Linked DNA regions of Homo sapiens: region 1 is linked to region 2. The links are contacts of gene promoters, found by promoter capture Hi-C in blood cells and fetal thymus (Javierre and others, 2016). All regions are on one chromosome and are shown on one strand. The core of a region is centred on a gene start or on the middle of the fragment in contact, and the rest is flanking DNA. Distances in the headings are between cores, read along the strand shown.

Region 1 (4,922 bases), core at 2,222-4,721, 1.2 Mb before region 2:
GTTGCCCAGGCTGGTCTTGAACTTCTGGGCTCCAGTGATCCTTCCGCCGATGTGCTGGGATTACAGGCATGAGCCACTGCCCCCAGCCTAGGTTTTCTTTTAGATAGAACCAAAATATGGTCCTTTCAAAGTCTGTGTGAATTATGAATCAGAATAAAATGAAAAAGAAAATTTAATACCCTATTCAATAAATATAATTAAAAAGTATTATCCTGTGTATTTTGAATCTCTGAAATAACTATAGAATCCAAAGAAATAGTGAAAAATTTAAACAGTACTCAGAGCTTTATCCTAAAGTCAGATAATTAGTAGGAAGCATAGCTGATAAACTGTACAAGGTCAGTGAAGAGCCTTCCAGTTGGTGTGAAGTCCAGCCTAGCTCTTCAGCTATTACTCAGAGTGGGACACTCATCTGGATGAAGAAAGCCAGTGGCACACCCTGATTCACTTAAAAATATATACTACTTTTATGTGTAAAAGTGCATGAAGAGTGAAATACTACTGATTAAGTGGCACACACAGATTTTATTTTCACTTAAGAAGTATTAATGAAAGCCCATGAATGTAACACAATACATTCCTAAACACCTGGATTTCCTGGAGACTGACTATATCACCATATTCACTTGTCTGCTTCCCTGTTCTTACCAGGTCCTCTCATCTAAGATGAACTTCAACTATAGAGTCAAGCCCAGCAACAGTAAGAATAAGGCTGGGAAGCTAAGCAAGAGCCAGAGCATTGTTGGTTTCTTCCTACTTTGGAGATTTTGTGTTTTAAATTAACTTTAAAAGAACAGGGAACACAACAAAATCTAGAGAAATGCACTGAAAAATCTAGAGAAATGTGTTAGAAATGCACTTTAAAAAGAGGGCTCACTGAAACTAATGAAAAGCAAGGCCGGGGTGCTTGTCTCTTCTAGGGGAGTCAGGAAAGGCTTCACAAAAGTGACCCCAGTTTTAGAACGAGAGGTACAGAGACAAATTCAAAAGTTTCTGCAGAATATAGAAGGCTGCAGTTGATCTTCCCACGGGAGGCAGACAGGCAATCCTCCTCCCAGAGCAAGCTACAAGGACGTGCAAATTGTGCACTCACAGGGGTCACACGGTGCACTCATAGGGCCCCGTATTCAGAAGGAAGGGCCTGGCACTTGCTTTAACGCTATGCCTGCGCTAGCGTTATCCTCTTTCTCTGCTGACATCCAGTCAGAGGCCTACTAACTCTTCCTTCTAAATGTTCTGCTAACTGTCCTCTTCTCCACTTAAACTACTTATCGACTCCAACTTAAGCAGCAGCCTCCTAATGGGCCTTGTGTTTACCCTCAAACTATTTTATAAGATGACTGGTCTTTCTAAATGGCATGTCTGATCCTGCATAAAATCATTTCCCTTTGTAATTGATAATCCAATGATGTCAGCATTAGTAAATAATGACTGACTTCAGCAAGGCATAGTGGGTGTATTATTTTGTTGGCTCAACACCTGTACTTCAGGCACGCCATTCCGCTTCTTCTGGTAACCCAACCCAACCCTCTACGAGAATGTCCTTCCCATGCAAGCTGGCACCTGAACCTAGCTGGGCAAATCAGAGCCTTTCCCTGGCATTTTGTTAGAATGGAGGAGGCTGCAAGATGTCAAAACTCAGAAGCTGTCAGCATCCATGATTCCTGCCAAGTGTGGAAAGCTGTCAATACCCAGACAGAAATAAGAAATGGAGAGTCCTAGCAGTTTGGGTTCCTGGTTCTAGCCTCTTGAGACCCAGCTGGCATCTATAATTTTCTGTTTAACTCTGGTTTTTCTGAGACAATAAATTCCTCTTTTTGCTTAAGTTAATAAAGCTAGGTTTCTTGCTGGTACACATAATATGGCAATTCATTATTTGGTTCCTACTTCTCCACCTAACCTATCTCCTCCCCTTGTAAGCTCTCACACACACTTTACAATAGAACGCTTAATATTCCACGAATTCAACATGCTATCACACCTCTGCACCTCAGTCTCTGCACCTCTGGTTCCAACACTGGGGTCACCTTTGTGAAGTCTTCACTGACTTCCCTAAAAGAGACAAGCACCCCGCCTTGCTTTCCACTAGTCTGTGCCTAAGTGCAAGCTCTTACCGCAAAGTACTGCAACTGCCCATGTGGATGACTGACTAGAGCCTAGAAGAGCAGTTAAGAACTTGGACTCTGGAGCCAAATTGAGCAGCTCCCCACTGAGTGGCTATGACCTCTCTGCCAGTTGGGCAGGCCTCTCCGTAACTCAATTTCTCGTCCATAAAGAGAGAGACAAATAACGCCTACTCCAGAAGATTGTTGTGAACACAGAACCAAAACGTGGACCTTTCAAAGTCCCTATGAATCATAAATCATAATAAAAAAAAGAAAACTGAATTGAAAAGGTTTACTGTTTTCTCTGGAGCTCGTAATCACAATTACTCTGCACTTCAGAAAAGCCACCCTCAACATTTGTTTTCTAGGAAATGTCAATAAGCAGGTGGAAATAAAATGCTCCGAAGAACAAACCCGTACGAAGAGACCTACTGCCAAATCTGCTAGTGAGTGCCGGCAATCCACCACTTCCAGACTGAGACCTAAGACGGACTGCCACTTACTTCTCAGCTGCCACTTACTTCTCAGCTGGCGACATAATGCATACTTTCCTACCCTAAGCACTTTGAGTCCCCCCCCCCACCCCCGCTAAGAAAGAAGTATTTAAGCCACGAACTGAGACCACGATGCCACATGCTGATCAGGACACTCACAGTCATGCGTCACTTAACGATGGAGATCCGTTCTGAGAAATGGAGAAATGTCCCCTTAGGCAATTTCTTCGGGCAGTAGAAACCCAGACAAACCCAGATGACACAGCCTACTGCTCTTAGGTCATGAACCTGTACAGCCTGTCACTGCACTGAACACTGCAGGCAACCGTAGCATACTAGTGAGTATCTGCGTATCTAACCATAAAAAAAGGTACAGTAAGAAGACGATATTATAATCTTTGAGACCACGCTGTCCCACATTGACCAGCAACGTCCTTCTGCAGCGCATAATCGTATTTAAAAGTGGATTACAAGAGTCGGAAAAACAAGCGGCGTGATTTGTTGTGGCGGCAACCAGGGAAGAGGCAGGAGAAAGGCAACCGACGAGTTCAAACCACGGAGCCCCAGTCTCGCGACCCCACCTCGCGTCCCCGTCGCCCGCTCAGGGCCCGACGCAGGGGTCCCGGGCTAGGGCGACCTCGGAGAAGCGGGGCGGGGCTTCCCGGCTGGGGCGGATCCCTCCCTCCCTCTCGTCCCGACCCGGCCGCAGCCCTGCCGCGAACGACGGTACCTGAGGACGGCCCCAGATCCGCGGTGCCCATCTCAGCCCTGCTCACACCCTGCATGACAAGGGGTAGGAGAAAGAGGAGAGCCATGCTGCTACCGACGGTCGCTGGCTCCAACCCCGAGCGCCTGCGGGACCAGCCCAGCACTGCCCTCCAGCCCCGGCCTTACGTCACTTCCGTCACCGGGGTCTGTGCCGGCGTCGGCAGGAGGCGGGACCAGGGCGTGGGCGGGGTCAAGTCCGGGAAGCCGCAGGAGGCGGACTCAGGCGCAGCACCCAGCAGTGAGCACGGCGTCGTGCGGTCGGGACCTGGACTTCTGGGTGTGGGAGGAATTTGAGTGCAAAGGTTAAGGTCTTTCAACCTGGCACCCCATTCTGCAATTCTTCTTCCAGTTTTTTTCGGTTTCCTGGGGTTGTGCAAGTTTGCATTAGGCCACAGCCGAGCCACAATCCTTATTTTACTAACTCTTGGACTTCACCTGGTTGTCTTGGAGCCTGACATTTTTAGAAGAGAATGAGACTTCAAAAGCCATTTCCAGTCCCTGCTTTTTCATTTGAGGAACCTGAGACTTAGCTAGTGAAATGGTTTGTGCAGATTCCCACAGCCCAAATCAAATCGGCTTGACCAAGAACTACTTTGTTCTTGGAGAAAAAAACTATTTGCATTACCTTCTCAGCAATTCAGTGTCAAATCAGTTTATCAGGCAGCCTCTCATGAAGAGGTCTGCTCTCTTACCTCTCTGGGTTTGTCTGTTATTTTGCATCTCTCCTATTCCACTGCAGCCACATTGCTAAGTCCTTCAGCGCTTGTGCTCAAACATGCGAATGTCTAATGATCTCACCTGTTTCAATTCTCTGAGTATCATGAACTTTTGTTAAAAATTTTAAATTGCAACACACCTTCTCCTCCTCCTTACCCCGCCCTACTGTTTTTTCATGGCACTTTTCACCTTGCTGTACACTATAATATACACCTTGATATTTGTTTTCTTCTCCTTCTAAAATGTAAGCTCCGTAGAGCTGACATCTTTACTTGGCACTCAATTAGTATTTGTTGAGTGAAAGACTGCATGATTACTAGTGTTAAGGAAAATTTTTAAAGAGGGAAAATCCTTATAAAGACACTATATAAACTAGAGGTATTATCAGCCAGATCATTTTACTTGTATTAATAAATCTCTTAGCTCAGTACTTCTCAAACTTCAACATACATGTGAACCATCTGGGGATCTTGATAAAATGCAGATTTGGATTCAGTAGTTCTAATTCAGGTTGGGTCTTGAGATTTTGTATTTCGGACAAAATGCACAGGGGATGCTGGTGCCCCTTTCAACAGGACCACACTTTGAATCAGAAGAATTTAGCTCAATCTAGACTAAGTTTAGGGAGAATATTTCCTTTGATGTGTTTCTGATGTCCACTATATGAAAGACACCTTCTAGTCGTTGTAAGGATGCAAGGATAAATAACTGATCTTTACCGTTTAGGCGTCTATGGAGTAGGACAAAATATGATATCCAGTTTGTAAACATTTTTGTGGTACTTGTCACAGGCTGGGTTACCCTGGCAGTAAACTCTGAGGTCGAGATTAAGGTATAA
Region 2 (5,458 bases), core at 437-2,936:
GAACAGCAGTTTTTGCAGCTTAGAGATCACCCACCTGGCCCACCCAGCTACTCATTCTGCTCAGCGTGGGCTGGTGTAGGGCCACTCTCCGCCCCGAGGGAGTGGACAGCTCTGTAGCTTGGGGCCCTGCCTCTTCTTCTGAGGCAGTACTGCCTCTGCGCCCTTGGCCTGGGGCTCCTGGCTCTCAGGGGTGGCAACAGCCTTCCCTTCCTGGGCAGCGCCCTTGTCGCTGCAGGCATTGATCTTCCCCCACTCCTGTTCTTCCTCCATAGGTGAGGAGGCAGAAGAGTCACCCCACCCTCCTTCCCATTTCTCTTGAAGGACAAGCTGCTCTTAGAAACCCTTCTTGAAAGATAATTATTTATTTATTTATTTATTTATTTATTTATTTATTTATTTATTTATTTTAGACAGGGTATCACTCTGTTACCCAAGCTAGAGTGCAGTGGCGCAATCTCGGCTCACTGCAGCTTCGACCTCCCCAGGCTCAAGCCGATCCTCCCACCTCAGCCTCCCGAGTAGCTGAGATCACAACCCCAGCACACTCAGCTTTTTTTTTTTTTTTTTTTTTTTTGGAAGGCAGCTATGCTCTCCACTCTACTATCAACGCTATTTTATTGTATTTTTGTAGAGACGGGTTTTCGCCATGTTGCCCAGTCTGGTCTCGAACTCCTGGGCTCAAGCGATCACCCCTGTCTTGGCCTCCCAAAATGAAGGGATTACAGGCGTGAGCCACCGTGCCTGGCCTTGAAAGGCAATTTCGTCTTCTTGGAAGTCTCCTTGCGAGGGAGGGAGCCTCCCCTTTGGCCTCAGCACCCTGGCTAGGGGGTGCTGGCTCCATGGCATTGCCAATGGTCCCGGCTGCCTCTTCTGTTCACAGGGGCCTACTCCCCTTCACCCTTGGGGGATGTCACCATTGCTTTTCACGTGGCCACCCTCCTGTCCGTTGGCTTTCGCGTGGGGAGTGCCTGCTGCCTCTGCGGCGGTCACGTCGCCCCGGAGAGCCTCGGAGCTCTGGCTGCCCACGATGGGAGTCCTCTGGGGGGCGCCGGAGCCGTGCCGGGTCCCCGCCGCAGGGGACAGTAACGCGGAGTCGGCCTGGCCGGCGGAAAGGGGGTGCTGGGGAACAGAGCCGCACCCCACTCGGCTCGGGAAAGCCCTGGTAACCAAAATTCTTGAAAAGCACTAGTGTCTGGCCTCGGCACTAACTCTCCCCGAGTCTCGTTAAGCCTGCGGGGATGACTCAGAGGGTCTGGGGTCCTGTCGGGGAAAAGTTCAGAAACCAGAACAGTTCCAGATTCTCTCCATGTGTCTGTGGTCCCACCACCTCCTCCGCAAGGGACCCTGAAAGCTGTCTGGGACCTAGGACAACTTCTTGGGATGAGTACGGCCATTCGCCCTGGCTGAGCCCCAGGAGTGCGGGCAGGGGCCGCGGGGGTCGGGTCGCCAGCCGCCACCTCCTGCCTTTCTCTGCCTGCGGTGCGCTGGGACACCCTCGAGGCGGCTCAGCGCCCGCGGTTCCCAGCGCGGGCGGGGCCGCGGCAGAGGTTCCCAAACCGGTTGCACAGAAACAGCGCCACCCCCTACTGCCCGCGGGGCCACCTGTGTGTGCCTTTCCTTCAAAAACAAAGGCGGGGCGGGGGCGGAAGTGCCTCAAAAGAAGGCGGGCCGAAGCGAGGTGCGGCTCCCTGTCGCCGCGGAGGGGCGGGGGCAGGACGCGCAACTCCGGCCGGAGCTGTCCGGGGTCGTGAGCCGGCCCCGCCTTGGTGGCGGCGCCCCCTCGCGGTCCAGAGGCAGACGCATCGGGTGGGCTCGGGTCTCCAGCCCGGCCGGGAGGAGGGACCGGGTCTGCGGAGCGGGGACTCGGGGCCTCGGCGGGGCGCGCACACGCAGGCGGGGCGGCCCGGGGTGCGGGGCCTCTGCGCGGCTGACCAGGCTCCCAGAGCGTCAGCGCCGCCCATGGCCGAGCCGCTCCAGCCAGACCCCGGGGCGGCCGAGGACGCGGCGGCCCAAGCTGTGGAGACGCCGGGCTGGAAGGCCCCGGAGGACGCCGGCCCCCAGGTAGGCGCCGACTCGGGAGCGGAGGGGCTGGGCCCGCCTTCCGGCTGATTTGCAGTGAGGCCAGCGGGTCCCATAGAGTTAAGTAAAAAGTACAGTTTTTTAAATGGTCCCAGTCCCTACCCACTATGCTACGCAAACGAGAAACCCCGGTCATTTAGCTCTACCCTCCCCGCTACCCCCAGTGCAGGTCCCATCTCAATTTCTTGTCTTTGCGGGGTGGTGGGGCGGGGAGGAACTGGTTACGTCCCAGAACGCGCGGTGGAACCCTCCGAACCGAGGGGGTGTAATAGATGCTTGTCTGAAAGTGTGAATCGAGTCCCCAGCGTGTGGGGTTGGGGCCGCTGCGGTCCCTAATCGCAAGGAGGGGAACCTCGTGGAGGGGAACCTCCCAGACCTAAGGAGCGGGGACCTCAGGCCGGACCCCGGGGCGGTGCAGCCCCTAGACAGGACGGCTCCAGGTCGACCCGAGATCATGGCACCGGTATTTTTGCATCTCACTCCTACCCTCTTAGAATTGCTTCTCGAAGTTTTCTCTGTTCCACTTTAGCCCGGAAGTTATGAGATCCGACACTATGGACCAGCCAAGTGGGTCAGCACGTCCGTGGAGTCTATGGACTGGGATTCAGCCATCCAGACGGGCTTTACGAAACTGAACAGCTACATTCAAGGCAAAAACGAGAAAGGTAAAAGCAGTTTTCCTTGTAATTATGCATATTGTGAAAGAGTCCCCGGGCTTATTATTGAGTTTTAGCTTATTAAAGAAATATCCTTTATAATGGAAAAATAAGCAAGTCATCAAAGACTTGTCTTGTTTTCAGACAAGACTCCTCAGGACCAGGGTTACACTGGGTATTACTTTTCAACCTCTGTTCTCTGATTTTGCTGGATGAACTGGGGTTTGGTGTAACTCGTGATAAGTCCTTTTCTATGGCTAACACCTCAAGATAATTTGGTGACTGGTAGGATCAGAGACGTCAGGAGGCAAGAAGGTACCAAGATTAGAAGCATCAAGTCATAGCTTTTGGTCTGGCTTTGCTGCTATTTATATTTTAGCAGGTCTCTTAGCCTGTGGGACCTCATTTTCTGAATGGTAAGAAAAAATAATTTACTGACCATGTAATCTCTAATTTCCCCTTTTATCTCTAAAAATTAAGAATTTATTAACCCAGAATATCAGTATTACAGAAAGTGGTTTAATGTGGGCAGTGAGCAATTGAGTAATTTTGGCCTTACTGTTTTAAGATGAAAATTATCTTAAAGGTAAATATGTCAACAATGTGAAGTAAATCAAGGAACCCAGATCAAAAAAGAATAGGTTAAATGTTTAAAGCTGTCAAAAATACACTAAATTTGCTTTCATTTTTATGTCACAGAGATGAAAATAAAGATGACAGCTCCAGTGACAAGCTACGTGGAGCCTGGTTCAGGTCCTTTTAGTGAGTCTACCATTACCATTTCCCTGTATATTCCCTCTGAACAGCAATTTGATCCACCCAGGCCTTTAGAGTCAGATGTCTTCATTGAAGATAGAGCCGAAATGACTGTGTTTGTACGGTAAGTGGTAGATAATTTATAGCCTTGCTGACTGCTAGTTTTACTTGCGTGCACTCACAGTTTAGCTCCAATGCAATTTCAAAAGGCTTTTTCACCCTTCCATAAAATCAGGTCTAATGCATTTTGTGATGTTTTCCTACTGGCTTTGTTGTATATGTTACTGAGGTCTGTCACAAGATAATAATCACTTCATTTAATGAGTCTATTGCATGCCCTTCATATAAGACACGGTGCAAATTATATGCTCCCAAAACAAAAGACTGCAATATAGTTAGACCTGAACAAAAATACCTTAAAACAGAAGTCTTAGTTTGTTCAGGCTGTTGTAACAAAATACCGTAGGCTGGGTAGTTTATGAAAAACAGAAATTTCTCTCTCACATTTCTGGAGACAAGGAAGTTCAAGTTTAAGGTGCTGGCAGTTTCAGTGACTGGTGAGGGCCCGTTTCCTGGTTCATAGATGGAACCTTCTCAGAAATGCCCTCATGTGGTGGAAGAGGCAAGGCAGCTTTATTGGACATGTTTTACAAGGCTCTACCCTCATGACCTAATCACTTTCCAAAGGCCTCATCTCCTAATACTATCACATTAGTGATTAGGTTTTCAAAATATGAATTTTGAGGCCCAGCACTTTGGGAGGCTGAGGCAGGTGGATCACTTGAGCCTGGGAGTTAGAGACCAGCCTGGGCAACATGGCAAGGCCCCATCTCTACCAAATGTATATATATATATTAGCCAGGCCTGGTGGCACATGCCTGTGGTCCCAGCTACTTGGGAGGCTGAGGTAGGAGGATCACTTGGGCCCAGGAGGTCGAGGCTGCAGTGAGCCGTAATTGCACCAATGCACTCCAGCCTGGGTGACTGAGACCCTGTCTCAACAAAAAGAAAAATGTATATATGAATTTTGGGGAGACACAAACATAGAGTTCATAGCATTCTGCCCTGATCCTGTAAAATTCATATCATCTCACATGCAGAATACATTCATTCTATCCCAATAGCCTCAAAAGTCTTAATTCATTCCAGCAAAAGCCTAAATTCATCTAAAGATCATCAAAATCAAATCTGAGGCTCAAGGTACAGTTCATCCTGCGGCCGATTCCCCTCCATCTATGAACCTGTGAAATCAAACATATTATATGCTTCCAAAATACAATGGTGGGACAGACATAGGATAAATACTGCATTCCAAAGGAAGAAATGGGAAAAAAGAAATGGGTAACAGGTTCCAAGTAAGTTCTAAATCTTCAGATTAATTTTCTTTGACTCAAAGCTCTTCCCTCTGGGCCCACTGGGATGAAGGTCCCACTTGTGAAGCTCTGCTGAACAGAGGTTGGGCCCCCAAGGCTTCAAGTGGCCCTGGCCATGGCTTTGGATGGCCCAACCCCACTGCAGCTCTCACAGTTGGAGGGACCCCACCCTGCAGCTCTACCAGGCTCGAATTGCACACCGGTGGCCCTCCCAGTCTGGTGTGCCCGGCTCCCATGGCTCTGTTAGCCATTTCCCTATTGGGGACTCACTGCAGTAGCTTGGTCTCACTGTGGCCCTCTGCTTGGGTCACATACCCAAGGCCCTGGGCAGCTCCATCCTTCAAGGTGGAGGTAGCCACACCCCCACAGCTCATGTACTGACAGAGGTCGGCACCACATGGATGCTGCTGAGGTTAACTGCCTGTGCCTTCCGGAGGGACAGACATCACAGCCCAGGCCACACCTCAGCCCACTGGAGCTGAACCTGGGGCATCCAAGGAGGGCTGCACTGGAATGCAGGAAACAGATTGGTGAGGCAGTGCTAGGCAGTGAGTTCCAAGGCCCCCCAGGTGCCCAAAGACCCTCCTTTGAAAT

The links. Contacts are between HindIII fragments. The CHiCAGO score rates a contact against its expected background, and 5 or more counts as called.
Region 1: the fragment with the promoter of IFNGR1 here is called in contact with the fragment with the promoter of HEBP2 in region 2 in 1 of 17 cell types (naive CD8 T cells); the score reaches 5.4 in naive CD8 T cells.

The regions. Positions count from the first base shown.
Region 1 is chr6:137,215,914-137,220,835 of GRCh38, forward strand. It overlaps IFNGR1 (interferon gamma receptor 1), which reads right to left and starts at 3,472. Exons shown (of 7, transcript NM_000416.3): 1 at 3,330-3,472. The coding sequence starts at 3,414. RefSeq lists enhancers at 1,612-1,671, 3,112-3,842, 3,693-3,942 and silencers at 2,653-2,702, 3,163-3,382, 3,423-3,652. The HindIII fragment of the contact is 10,215 bases long and covers 1-4,922 here.
Region 2 is chr6:138,402,537-138,407,994 of GRCh38, forward strand. It overlaps HEBP2 (heme binding protein 2), which reads left to right and starts at 1,687. Exons shown (of 4, transcript NM_014320.3): 1 at 1,687-2,061; 2 at 2,609-2,744; 3 at 3,435-3,615. The coding sequence starts at 1,960. It also overlaps the pseudogene MARCKSL1P2. RefSeq lists enhancers at 381-901, 1,423-1,943 and silencers at 1,103-1,172, 1,303-2,152. The HindIII fragment of the contact is 19,528 bases long and covers 1-5,458 here.